Regions from separate parts of the Homo sapiens genome. Here regions 1 and 3 are each linked to region 2. The links are contacts of gene promoters, found by promoter capture Hi-C in blood cells and fetal thymus (Javierre and others, 2016). All regions are on one chromosome and are shown on one strand. Each heading gives the region's core, a stretch centred on a gene start or on the middle of the fragment in contact. The rest is flanking DNA. Distances are from core to core; before and after follow the strand shown.

Region 1 (4,513 bases), core at 1,662-4,161, 270 kb before region 2:
GTTAAAGTCTTAAAGTTAGTGGTGGGAGAAAACAATAAAAAAATATGAAATCTCCCTATGTTAATAAACTAATTTCAAATACCAAGGGTTGGTTTTTGGTTGGGTGAGTCTGTTTTTGCCTTGATTAAAAAGAAGTGATTTTTTTCTTCAGCCTAGTTTTCCTGGTATGAAAGGCAAGAAGGAATGACATTCCATAACTGTTATAGAGGTGAAAACAGTTTTATTTATTGGTGGTCATTACCGGCCTATAACCAGGGCACAACCTTCTTGGTAAACATTTACCAAGCATTAGTGGAAGATGATTCACTAACTTTTAAAACTCTCCTTCCCTTATATGCATATTAATACCACGATATCTTTAGCTTTTAAGTCCATATATACAGGCACAGGTGCGAATAAATTCAAACATATCACTTGTAGTGGTTTACATAAGGGCTTGCTAGTTCAAATGGGGTTGTTAGTTTTGCATCTCAAATTAGTTCCTGTCAACCCAGCAACTAAAGAAAATTCCTTTGTGAAAAAAGTTTCCAGGCATGACCCAGTAATTGTTTTAATGGATTTTCAATGAAGGGTGAAGTACCATGCTATGTAGCCTGTGGGCATTCCATAAATATATTTTGACTGATTCTGTTAACAAACTACATAGAAAAAACCAAATACTTACTATCCAATCCTCTTATATTGTTTCCCATAGGCTCTGTCTGTTAGTGTATTTATAAGCATTTAAAGTGTATAAGGGAGCTCTGGCAGTGAGAGTGAATTGCCCAATGCAGAGAAGCACTCTGGGCTGGAGGGTTTTACTTAGTCTAAGATTTTCTTTTTTTTTTTTTGTGAGACGGAGTCTGGCTCTGCCGTCAGGCTGGAGTGCAGTGGCATGATCTTGGCTCACTGCAGCTTCCGCCTCCTGGGTTCAAGCGATTCTCCTGCCTCAGCCTCCCGAATAGCTGGGAGTACAGGTGCATGTCACCACGCCTGGCTAATTTTTGTATTTTTAGTAGAGACAGGGTTTCACCATGTTGGCCAGGATGTTCTCGATCTCTTGACCTCGTGATCCACCCTCCTCGGCCTCCCAAAGTGCTGGGATTACAGGCGTGAGCCACTGTACCAGGCTACTTAGTCTAAGATTTTCAGTGTGCACCTGAGATTTGCCCTTTCCAAAATGAGGAAGAGGCCTGAAGCCGATCAGCTGAAAGAAGTACTAAGCCCTGCAGGCTGAAAAGGTAATGTCCCACCTATGCTGGAGGACCTGATGTTGGTATAGTCAATTTTCTGTCTTCTATGTAAGGTATAGATCTGCTCTGATCTTGACATTGTGAAGAAAGCTACTATACTGTCAGAATCTGCTGTAATATAGCCCTGAGATGAGAAAGGTGTGTAGAACAGAAATCTTCACTGCCCTTCTCCCAAAACATTCATTGACCCCTCCTGTAAGATATATATATATATATAATTATTATTTTTTCTAGACAGAGTCTCGCTCTGTTGCCCAGGCTGGAGTGCAGTGGTGCAGTCTTGGCTCACTACAATCTCAGCCTTCCAGGTTCAAGGTTCCCAGGTTCCCAAGCAGATTCTCGTGTCTCAGCCTCTTGAGAACTGGGGCTACAGGCACACGCCACCACACCTGGCTAAGTTTTATATTTTTAGTAGTGATGGAGTTTTGCCATGTTGGCCAGGCTGGTCTTGAACTCTTGATCTAAGGTGATCCGCCAACCTTGACCTCCCAAAGTGCTGAGATTACAGTCATGAGCCACCGCGCCCGTCCTGCATTCTTGCTGTGTGTGTGTAACCCTTGCTATAGTTATATAATTTAGGTTGAATTTAATTTATACGTTGACTATGATCTGAGGGTCAAGATCATTTGGGATAAAGGAGAGATCAACTACATGTCCGTATACTGCAAGTTAGAATTTAGTTAAGAAGGCCCTGAGTAGATTCCAGAATTATAATAAAGCTTTCATTTTTAGTTTGAGGAAACTTCAATATGGGCGACAGAACAAAGAACTCGGGTGGTAGGAATTAAGTTGGTAGGAATTAAGAGGGTGCCTGCCAGACGGGCTGGAAGTGAAGGAAGCCATGTGCCTGCAAAGCTGTTTAGGGCTGCCATGTGTTTATGCCCTGGCAGAAACCTCTGGTTAGAAGTTAGATCGCTTACATTTTTCTTAAGTAACCCATTTTGTTACATCCATATGTTTTCCCTCTTTCCAGAAGGAAAAAAAAGTATCAGCGAGCCCTTCCTCACGGATCAGGAAGCTCAAGGGATTACTCAAGTACATTGGCGGCAGTTACAAAGATATTTTCTTTTTTTTTTTTTTTTTTTTTGAGACGGGGTCTCGCTCTGTTGCCCGGACTGGAGTGCAGTGGCGCGATCTCGGCTCACTGCAAAGCTCCGCCTCCCGGGTTCACGCCATTCTCCTGCCTCAGCCTGCCAAGTAGCTGGGACTACAGGCGCCCGCCACGACACCCGGCTAATTTTTTGTATTTTTAGTAGAGACGGGGTTTCACCGTGTTAGCCAGGATGGTCTCGATTTCCTGACCTCGTGATCCACCCGCCTCGGCCTCCCAAAGTGCTGGGATTACAGGCGTGAGCCACCGCGGCCTACAAAGATATTTTCAAGCATTGTTCTCCCTACCCCAAATTTCTGAGTCATTTAAGTAGAGAAACAGCTCTTTTGCCCTGGCTCATATATGAAAAAAGTAGAATTCAGGCCAGGCTTCAAGTCTAGGGATGATTCTCATTAATGAGGTTAGGTCTGCCACCTGGTGGTGAGAAATAAAATGCCACTTGATTTTCTCATCTGATCTGTCCATATACCACACTTAAAAATTCCACTTTGCAAATCCATCCTTAACCTCTGACTCGGGTTGTGCTTGCCGCCAGCCAAAAGTTCCCAACTGATGACAACGGCACCGACACCTTGGGGAGAATTTTTAGGCAACCATCTGGAACTCATTCCCTATGAACACATTTGAAGTGTTTTAGAACACTGGTAGGTGGTTCTACAACACTTCAAATGTGACTTAAGGTAGATTTTAGGAGAACAAGGTTCTCCTAAAGAGGAAAGATAGCACTAATTCATTCATTAGTACACAAACTATTGTGTAAAAAAAAACTATGCTCTTCAATTTGTAAACAAATGTGTAAGACAATGCCCCGCTCCATCAGTGACAAAGAGATGGGAGTGGATAACCAAGTTAGGCTGGGAAAATAAGAGTAATTCTTGCTTCCCGTTGAAAGGCTGAGGAGAGTGCAGAATCATCTGAAGCCATTAGGGGGAGTGCTAAGTCTTCAGAAACACACACACACACACACACACACACACACACTCGAATACTAGAATATGAATTCTGGAATATGTCCACAATTATTTGGGGATTTGGCCTATGGATCCCTCACAGAGGGTGAAGATACCCAAGTACCCTGGAGAGCTTCAGCTTCCAGTAACCTCCTCCAGCACTGAAGACTTCAGCTCCTTCCTTTTTTCACCTGCCCCTATTTTCCTTTCCTTGTAGGCCAGTACTCTCAAAGTGTGGCCCCCAGTATCACCACTGTCACCACCTGGGAAACTTTCAGAAATGCAATATCTCTGCCCGTACCCCAGATCAAAGGAATCAGAAACTGTAGGGCAGGGTTAATAAGGCCTCCAGGTGATTTTCATGCAAGCTGTGAATCTCTAGTCCAGGGGTGTCCAATCTTTCGGCTTCCCTGCCACATTGGAAGAAGAATTGTCTTGGGCCACACATAAAATACACTAGCTAAAAAATTTTTTTTTTTGCAAAAAACCTCATCATGTTTTAAGAACATATATGAATTTGTGTTGGGCCGCATTCAAAGGTGTTCTGGTCTGCATGCGGCCCATGGGCCGTGGGTTGCACAAGCTTGCTCTAGTCTTAGGGTGATCCTCTGGGCACAGACCAGGGAGACTTGTCGGAGTGGGAGCTAAGGGGAGAAGCAATGGGTCCTAGAAGCCAATCTAGTTACCCAGTCCAGCCCAGAGTGTTAGAGGGAGCAGAGAACAGCCACAAAGGGAGGTGGCAGAGGTTTTTGCCAACTGAGCACCAGCTTTGTGGACACTGACCCTCCAATCACCCTTGGTCACAAGATCTTCAGATGGGAGACTCAGTCTTCAATTAAAGCGACACTAGAGAAGAATCCCTACAGTACCCAGAGCAAATAAGATAAATAGGGCTGTGTCCACCCCACCTGGGTGCAGCTCCAGCTCTTTTCACTCCCTTCCAGATCCGCGGAAAGCACCCCTGACACGCATATATTTGTGGATGGGATACCTGGATTGAGAGCGAACTCCATCAACCCCCCGAGACACTGCACCCTGCTCCCTCCTCTGCTGGAGGAACTGCCACTTTCTAAAGGAAAATACTATTTAATGTGCAGAATTACAGTACACACAATACTTATAGTATGGCAAGTATTAGTCCTTGGTATTTTTTCCGCCACCTTTTCCCATCTCCCCATCCTGTATGCCTGTGCCTCCTTACCTTTCTAGCACAAAACAGG
Region 2 (4,391 bases), core at 475-2,974:
CCTTCAATCCCCCTTAGTAGCTTAAGAGTTCGTGAGACATTGGATTTATATATGGTATGGCTTTAAAGTAATAAGATAAATATTCCCAAGCTCTTTTAAGAATGGAGCTCATAATTTTATAAGCAAACTATACATTTTCTTACTAAGCATAGAAAAGAAGGGCTGGGTATAGTATAGAGTGCTGCTATAGAGGAAGAGAGAACATCTAGTCATTTTTATCTTATTTAAATGTGAGAATAATATCTGTGATAATTTCCCATATTAGAATAGCTAAATTATTGTTATTGAGTACAATACAATAAAATATAAAAACGGGTTCATGCCATCATTAAACCTTCTTTGAGAAGTGATGGCTTGGCCAACCCGATTTCAAGGGTAAGTCCATTTACTTAATATCTGTGGCATTTAAAGCAGGTAGACTGGAGTGAAAAAAAATAATTTAAATTTGAACAGTTCAGCAGCTGACAACAAAAGCAACTACAGGGCTAATGTTTTCCTTCTGTGCTCAATGCTGTGAGGTTTTTCTCTGAGAGAGTTTGTTCAAAACCTTTTAGATGTGTGTGTTCATTTAATGGTTGTTTCTACATACCCTTTCATCCAGCTGTCAGAGAAAATAGGAATAAATGGACTGATCCCTGCACAGGTAACCTAATGGATTAAAAATACGGTACTCATCACCAGGTTGATCATCATGAGCGAGAATACTAACTGCCATTATAAGATGACTTATAAGATGACTTACTATCTAAGACAAATGTGGATTCCTCAGAGGGTAATGTGGCCTAAGTGCTGCTGCTGGAGGGAGATATCTCACCCATCCCCCGATTTTCACACTGACTCAAGCCCTTGAAAGCAACAGAAAACAGTGGGTTACAAGGAGTGAAGTGCTCCTCTGGAAGAGTCCTTTTCACTTTGCTTTATAGCTGTTTTCCAAACCTTCAAAAATAACGGGGGGGGGGGGTTACTTTCACACTTTTATGTTTCTACTTTAAACACTTCACTATCTTTTGAATTTTAAAATATTAGAATAACGCCTCTACCTTTGTAATTAGATAAAATGCAAGCCTGGGGAAAAAATCAGTTGCCAAGCTCCCAAAATGCCACCGATGTAGCATCTGCTCTTAACACGTTGATAGAAAAAGGAGGATCAGTAAACCTAGGTCTCTTCCTTGCATCCCTCTCCTGGACGGTGTTGTGGGTTGGAAGCGCTGCAGAGCCTCGGTCTATCCGCTCTCTGGATCTCACAGCACTGCAGCCTGGGAACACCCCACTTGAACTCTAAGCTTCTCCCCAACCCTGTTGCAGATTCAAACTGGCGACAGGAAAACAATGCCCCCCATGTCTCGTCTTCAGAATGTGCACCTGGCCACCTCCCAGGAGCTAGAGAGGGATTAAGGTCTCGGTCATAAGAGATCTGAATCAGGCACTGACACTTCCTTTTCTTAAGAGCATGAAACAAAACAGTCCTTCCTTCTCTGCCTCCAATTAAGTATTTATTAGCCGGGCCTTGGGTCCAGATCAGCGGTAAGGGTGGTCTGCGAGGTCCGTGCACCGCCGTCCGCCCACGCCTTCTTCCAACCACCTCAGCCCGACCCTCCACTTTTCTCCCTTCCCCGCAGCCGCCCCGCTTTCCTCACCTCTGCCCCCTTCACCTGGATCCACTCTCCCCCAGGCTCTACTCACACCTCAGATTCCGGCGCGTTCCAGCCCACGGGGCTCTGGTTTACTTAGGGCGAATCACAAGTGGGCTTTCATTTAGGTGATTTAAGATTCACTAATCAGCGTTGCTCTTTCAACGGCCAACTTCTTCCTCATTAGCTTACGCCTAGCGCGGCTCCCGGCAACGCCGAGCGCGGTGGGTTGGCTCGTCACCCTTCGTTACGCCCTCCGATTGGTCGGTGCCTGTCAGCCTTTGGACCGACCTCAGTTCGGTTGGGTAGCAGCGGTCCGAGCTGCACTCCCCGCCCCCCCGCCACTCCACTGTCAATCACACCATCTCTCCGTAACTCATTGGGCCATTGGTCAGTCTAGCCTGAGGGCGGGTTGTTGGGCGGAAGAGAGAGACTTCTTCCGGCCTCACTCGCTGTCACCATAGAGATTGCCCATCCAGGCAGCGAAGCAGCAGGGCCAGGCAGCTCAGATCTCGAACTCCAGAGAACTGCACAGTCATCTAGACATCAATGCCTTTTCCGGGGCCTGATGAACATCTCAATCCCCAACCCACTAGCTCGAGTGGGGCGCAAGATGTGGTGGACAAGTCAGCTCAGGCCCGGTCATTAAGTGTCCCCAACAACCCTCCTGGAGGGAACTGAGGACGAAGCACCAGTTGTAATAACGGCACGCTTCATTTATCTTTATCTCGACTTGTTTTATTTGGTATTTAATTCTTCCATTAGCCTTGCGAAACAGACAAAGGCAAAGATCATTCTACCCACGGGACAGACTGGGGAAGAGGCCCAGGGTCCATCAAGTAAACCCTCTGCCGCCAGGCTGCTGGAACTGGAGCTGGCCCACGCTATTGGCAGACTGCTGTTACCTAACTGCCAACTAAAGCTTGCCATGACTTTGCTTTGAGGCTATGGCCTGTTAGACCAAAAGATGCATCAATCAGGACAACCAAAGGAAGTAGGACAGAGGCTGCGTGCTCCACCACTGAATCAAGAAGGGGAAACAAACAATAATCAATACCAAATTGGAGAGCTGCACCGTTTGAACCTTTGACCTTAAACAAAATTTTAAGAAATATCATGAAGCAACCTATTCAATCTTAGAGCACTGAATCTCTGATTTAAGGAATTCTCCTGAATCACAGCTTTATGAACCAAAAAGAAGAAGATGCTTGAATTTCATCAACTGCACGTCTCAAATTTATTCAACTTTCGAGGCTTCATTTACAATCACATAAAGTAACCAATGATTTGTTGTGCGTTTAGCAACTTAACATTACTTGGCCCAGTGAGAAGCTCTGTGGCTAAGAAATCCTTTATTTTGATGAATTCATTTCACTGGAACTGAGTGTTGACTGCAGCTATGTTCTGTTAGGAACTGCGAAGATATACAAGAAATGAGATGTGACTCCCATCTTAATAGCCCGTGGTTTTGTAATGTTAGGTCAACAACACATGAAACAAGTAGGAAACACTTTAAAGCAAGATATAACAATGGGCCAACCCTATTGTACAATTAATTTCTCCAAAATATAATAATACTTCATATTTGCAGAACATTTCGTAGTTTCCAGAGCACTTCTTCCCTTGTATTATTTGGGGGATATTTTGTTATGGCTGGAATTAATGTGTGTGTCTTTATCATAGAGCTAGAACTAATGCTGGGTCCTAGCATATGAGTAGGAACAGGAAAGGTGGAACAGAATCCAGGAGGAGAAAGTAGTTTGAGCAAAGAGGCCAAGGCAAGAATGAGCACTGAGTATCTGGAGAATAATATGGAGACAAATGATGGAAAGTAATGTGTAGACAAGCTGGTCAGAACTGGCTCTGAGACCTTAATATTTTGGAGGAAAGTGGTCAAAAGTTCAAAGTTTGAGATTGGAAAAGTTAACTTCCTTACACTTCTAATGATCATACTGGCTTCAGTTAAGCTATAAATTAAAAATGGGCATGGCTCAACAGAACTTGAGTCCTGTCCTCTCGCTTTTCTCCTTAGGCAGCATGAGCTTCACCATTTGCTTTACCACCTCCACCAACTACCAGTCCCTGCATTCCATCCAGCCACACAGCCACAGCGTCCAGTTCATCAGCAGCACAGCCAAAGTCTATGCAGTCCTCAGGGGCTTGGGCTCCCGGACCTCAGTGTCCTTCTCCACCAGCTTCTGGAGTGGCTGGGGGTCTGGAGGCCTGGCTGCAGGGATGCCAGGGGTCTGGAAGGAATGGGGTACATCCAGAATGAGAAGGATACCATGCAAGGCCTGAATGATTGCCTGGATTTCCTACCTGGACAGAGTGAGGACTCTGGTGACCAAGAGTCAGAGGCTGGTGAGCAAAATCTGAGAGCACTTGGAGAAGAAGAGACCCCAGGTCAGAGCCTGGGGGCATTACTTCATGACCATCAAGGACTTGAGGGCTCATATCTTTGCAAATTCTGTGGACAATGCTTGTGTTGTTCTACAGATTGACAATGCCCGTCTTGCTGCTGATGACTTTAGAGTCAAGTATAAGACGGAGCTGGTCATGTGCCTGTCTGTGGAGAGCAACGTCCGTGGGCTCCACAAGGTCACTGATGACACCAATGTCACTCGGCTACAGCTGGAGACAGAGATGGAGGCTCTCAAGGAGGAGCTGCTCTTCATGAAGAAGAACCAAGAGAAGGAAGTAAAAGGTCTACAAGCCCTGATTGCCAGCTCTGAGTTGACCATGGAGGTAAATGCCCCCAAA
Region 3 (4,465 bases), core at 340-2,839, 290 kb after region 2:
AAAGAAAGTTGGGTGGGGGGCAGGGGCAAGGGGAAGCCAAAGGAGGAAAGGAGAAATAGGAAGAAAAATAAAGGGAAAGAAAGCCAAATATGCAGGGTCAACATTCAGGAGGGAAGCAGAGACAGGCTGAAGAATTGGAGGAAAAGAGCAAGAGAGAGAGACAGGGAGGCACACAAACCCAGGAAAAGGGAGACGATACTGAGAACGACGGGGCAGAAGGACAGACGGAGAGAGGAACGGCAGCAAGAGTGACAGCAAGTGAAAGGACAATGCATGTGGCTCAGTGCGCAGCCAGGGTACGAGGAGGCGGGAAAGTCAGGAGGATGTGCTATGTGCTGCTCCTGTTGTATTACTCAAACTTGCCCCTGCATTTTCTCTGACTGCCACTGCCTGCTTTGCTCAGGCTTCAGGGGTAAATACGGTAATTACACATAGGCTATGGCAGGAGCTTCCTAACCTGCTCTCCTGCCTTCTCTGGCCATCCCTCGGCCCACTTGCACACTCACACGTCTCTTAAGCCTTCCCAGGACAGGCCCCTGTCATTATTGCACTAAGGTAGGGGCCGGGCTTGCATGGGCTCTCCCAGGAAGGAGAGGCCCAGGGCTGCTAAGAATCGGGGACCGAGACTTTCAGTGCAGGAGGCAGGTCTTGGGTTCAAGACACAGGAGCCTGTATGAGAGAGAGAAAAGGAGCTTGTGAGTGTGTGTGTGTGTGTGTGTGTGTATGTGTGTGCACACGCGGGCACATGCATTCGTCATGGTTCACCCTTAATCCCCCCGGCCTGAAATAGCCTGAGCACCAGCCTGGCCTGGGGAGGGGTGTCTCCCCTCTGGAACATGATCCTCTGGATCAACATTCCAGCCGCCTGCCAGCTTTGTTGCAAACTGCTGGCTCATGGTTTTCCCTGTGTGCTAATCATCCAGCCTTGTGTTGCAAAGCGGGAGACATTTTTGTTTTCAACTTGGTATCCCCACTCCCAGATGCTATGCCGTGTCCTCCATCCAGATCGATGGGTTGAGCGTTTTCCTGCTCGGCCTTCGATTTCTCTGTGTGAGTCTTCTCTGCTGGGCAAAGTGGAGATGGGAAGTAAGGGAGACTGTTCTACCAAGCAGGGGACTAAAGCAGACTTTCAAAGACCTGGGCCACAGCTAGATTTTCCCCCTCCCTAGGAACCCATCCTGTGCTGCAGGCACCCAATGACACCCAGGCTTCCTACTCCTCAGAGCCCAGGCTTCTTGTGGGGGCAGGATCCTCTGTAAGGAGACTGGTTCTAGACCCTACTCTGGGTTCTCCTGTCCTTCCTAGAGGGCGCAAATGGAACCATTCCACTAGAGAGACACCTCACTCAAGTATTAGTTTGACCTGAAATTCATCCTTTTTTCTCTGTGGAGATTTAAGCCTCAGCTCTATTCCAGGCAAATTGGATTGAATCATGGTTCTCATTCAATTGCCAAGCGTTTGGGGGGCACTCACTGTATGTTCTGTGCTAGGTCCTGTGAGAACAGACACAAGCCATTGTCCAAGAGGAGCTCCCAGTCTCAGGGAGAGAGAGCCATGAGTCACAATGAGGATCTAGATAAATCATGTCAGCCGTGAAATGCTCAGGGTCAAGAGTACAGAGGAAAGGAGCAGCCAAAGAGATGGGGAGAGGAGCTGCAGGCAGGGATTCTGGATTGGGTGATCCACATGTGTGGCTTGAGGTTGCCCCAGTCTCAACTCAGCATCCTTCATCCTTCCTCAGAGGGGGACCAAGTCCCAGACCCAGCCCTCACACCTTCATGGCCAGTTTGTTCCTGCTCCACAATAGGATAAACAAACCTCAGTACAGAGTGGAGAGGACAACAGGAGGATTTTGCCCATTGTGATTGGAGAAGTTACAGATTCATTGGCCTTGGGAGGGCTTCCTCTGGGAGGTGGCATTTCAGGCAGGCTTGGTGAGAGTTGGTAGCCTATTTGGCAACCTTTATAAAGGTGAGTGTTTCCAATGTAGCAAGAAGTCTGAAAGAAGGCGAGAAACAGAGAGAGCCAATCAGAATCCCTAGAGAGGAGATGGGGTGAAGGGGGCTCATTCATTCACGCATCCTGCATCCATTCAGGCACCTCTGGAGCCTACTGAGTTCTGGGGATATAAAAAATGGATGCGACACAGTCCCAGGTCTCCAAGTGTAATGATGGAGTACCTTGAAGCCAAATGTGTGGGAGTTCTGTTTTGGGGCTAATAGTGGTGGCCGACTGCTAAAGACTTTAAAGGTAGTGGAGAATGTAGGCAACAGGGTCAGGGCTGGAGACACGCTGGAGACAAATCAATTGAGCAGCCACATCTTGTATTGGTCCAAGAAGAGCTGGCAGAAGGAGGGGAGACGGTGAACATTTATTGAGCTCCCCTCTGTCTCAAACATGGTGTGTACTAGGTGCTTTCCACAGATTATCTAATTTACTCTTCATGACAGGCTGCAAGGTACACATGATTTTCTCCATTTTACATCCAAGAAAAGAGAAGCTGAGAGAAGTGAAGACCCTGGCTCAAAGTCACACACCTAGCAAGTGCTGGAGTCCGGGATGGGCTACTCCAGAGCCCATGTTCTTCTTGCTACATGGGGATATGTTTTTGTGACACATGGGGAGAAGAATCAGGGGTCCTGGGACCTGGGTGGAGAGTGATGACCCTACCTAGCTATTGGTCAGTGGGGTAGGGACTACAGAGGAAGAAGCCAATTGCTACGAAGCAAGAATTTGGATTTGCTAGTAGACTGGAAGTAGGGAAATGAGAGGTACAAAGTTGAGGACATTCTGAGATGCTAGGCCCAGCTGCCAGATGCGACTCTGCAGCTCTGCGCCTCCCCAGCAGAATAGGAAGGGGGCTAATCAATGCATCCCCACCTGAGAAGGGTGGCACTTGCCTATTGACCTCTAAGGAATTTTGGATTTTCCAGATTGGCAGGGGGCGGAAGGGGTAGGGGGCCATCACCTCAGCCAGGACCCTAGAGGTTCTGCCCAGTGGCTAAGCATCCTGAGGACAGGACCAGGGAGAAGACTGGATGGGGCTGGGGTAGGGGGCAATCTACCCTGGAAAGATCACTACTTAGATGGACAGGGGGCATCCCTAGACTGAAGTGGAATAAAATGAGCCACACTGCCTGTCACAGGCATTAAAGCTGTCTCTTCTGCCGGTTCCTCACCCCCAGCCCTGCAGCCGTGGAGCCCAGAGACCAGAGGGTGGCCTTTGCCGCCAGGCTAGTGAAACCTGAGCGCTTCTCCCGCCTGAGAAGGAATGTTCCTTAAGAGCAGCAGCTGCTGCTTGTCCCCACAGGCCAGAACTGCCTTTCCCTTGAGACCAAGGCCCCCAACAGGAGTGGAACAAGAACAGGATTAGGTGGCTTGTTTACATGTGCTTGGCTTTCCCGAGTTTGGGAATCTGGCTTTTCTTGGTCTAAGACAGGGCCCTGGCTCTGCCAGAACGGAGGGATGCTGCCGGGAAGGGGTGTCTGGGGACAGGGACAACCTCTCCACCCTCCTAAGGCACATTTGCGCGGGCACACACACAAACACACACATCACACACACACAAACACACACACACCACCACACACAGGAATACACCCACAGCCTTAGGCCAAAGTCAGACCACACATGTATCTCGCATGTACCATGCACTTAACATTGCGCTAAGCAGTTTCGGGGAATTCAGAGAAAGACCCCTCTTTCCCTCAAAAAGCCTGCCACCAAGCTAGGGAAAGACGACGCCTGCATTAGAGAGAACCATTCTGTTGTGTCCAGTATGTAAGGCAGATGGGAGGCTTTGAAGAGTCCAGAGGACGGGCCGCGGCTGTGCCCTGGAGAGGTCAGGACAAGCTTTCCAGCAGAAAGGAGACATTCAGAACCGACCCCCACCCGCCCCGAGCCCAGGCAGGGGAGCCGCCAGCACGCGCCTTCTGGGAGGCTTTGGTGAGTGTGGTCTGAGCCGGTGGATCAGCAGAGACCTCTAGTGGCCGGGGGGAGGATGGCAGGTGGCTGGGGCTGGCTCCGCACTGCACCCCACTCCGGCCACCGACTCACCGTCACCCACCCTCCCACACAATCCTTAGGAAATGGCATGGGCTCTTTTACAGTCCTCAGCTGGAAGGATCTTTGCCAGGCCATCCCGTTCATTCCCCTGTTTCACAGGCATCCAAGTAAGATAAAAATTCCACCTATTTCAAAACAGCTTAAACAGAAACTTTTCTGTCATTTATCTCCTTCACTCCTTCATGTCTTTGTCCCATTCTGGTTTCTTCCAGGAATTCCTTCCTTGAGTGGAAATGAAGTCTTCCTTGAGTTTCCCAGGGCAGTTCAAGCCCTTTCCCTATTAAAAATGAAGCACGGTGGCTCACAGGGACAGACAGCTCTTCCTGGGCTGACGTGAGACCGCTGTGCATTCATGTGGGCCCCTGCACCCCCCACTTCCAAAAGTCATTCCACAGCTTCT

The links. The method cuts DNA at HindIII sites, captures the fragments that hold promoters and counts their contacts. A CHiCAGO score of 5 or more calls a contact.
Region 1: a contact is called between a fragment that was not itself captured here and the fragment with the promoter of TMEM218 in region 2, in 2 of 17 cell types (total CD8 T cells and fetal thymus). The highest score is 5.5, in total CD8 T cells.
Region 3: a fragment that was not itself captured here is called in contact with the fragment with the promoter of TMEM218 in region 2 in 1 of 17 cell types (endothelial precursors); the score reaches 7.2 in endothelial precursors.

What each region holds. Positions count from the first base shown.
Region 1 is chr11:124,834,403-124,838,915 of GRCh38, forward strand. MSANTD2-AS1 (MSANTD2 antisense RNA 1) reads left to right here. Exons shown (of 5, transcript NR_103862.1): 5 at 1-85. Among named protein-coding and RNA genes, the nearest start is that of ROBO3, 29 kb to the right of the region's middle. The HindIII fragment of the contact is 1,925 bases long and covers 1,950-3,874 here.
Region 2 is chr11:125,109,902-125,114,292 of GRCh38, forward strand. TMEM218 (transmembrane protein 218) reads right to left here and starts at 1,725. Exons shown (of 5, transcript NM_001258244.2): 1 at 1,638-1,725. It also overlaps the pseudogene KRT18P59. RefSeq lists enhancers at 1,420-1,509, 1,865-2,777, 2,140-2,319 and a silencer at 1,980-2,049. The HindIII fragment of the contact is 1,270 bases long and covers 1,282-2,551 here.
Region 3 is chr11:125,401,068-125,405,532 of GRCh38, forward strand. The region is part of intron 7 of PKNOX2 (PBX/knotted 1 homeobox 2); the gene reads left to right. Among named protein-coding and RNA genes, the nearest start is that of FEZ1, 93 kb to the right of the region's middle. The HindIII fragment of the contact is 4,522 bases long and covers 1-3,850 here.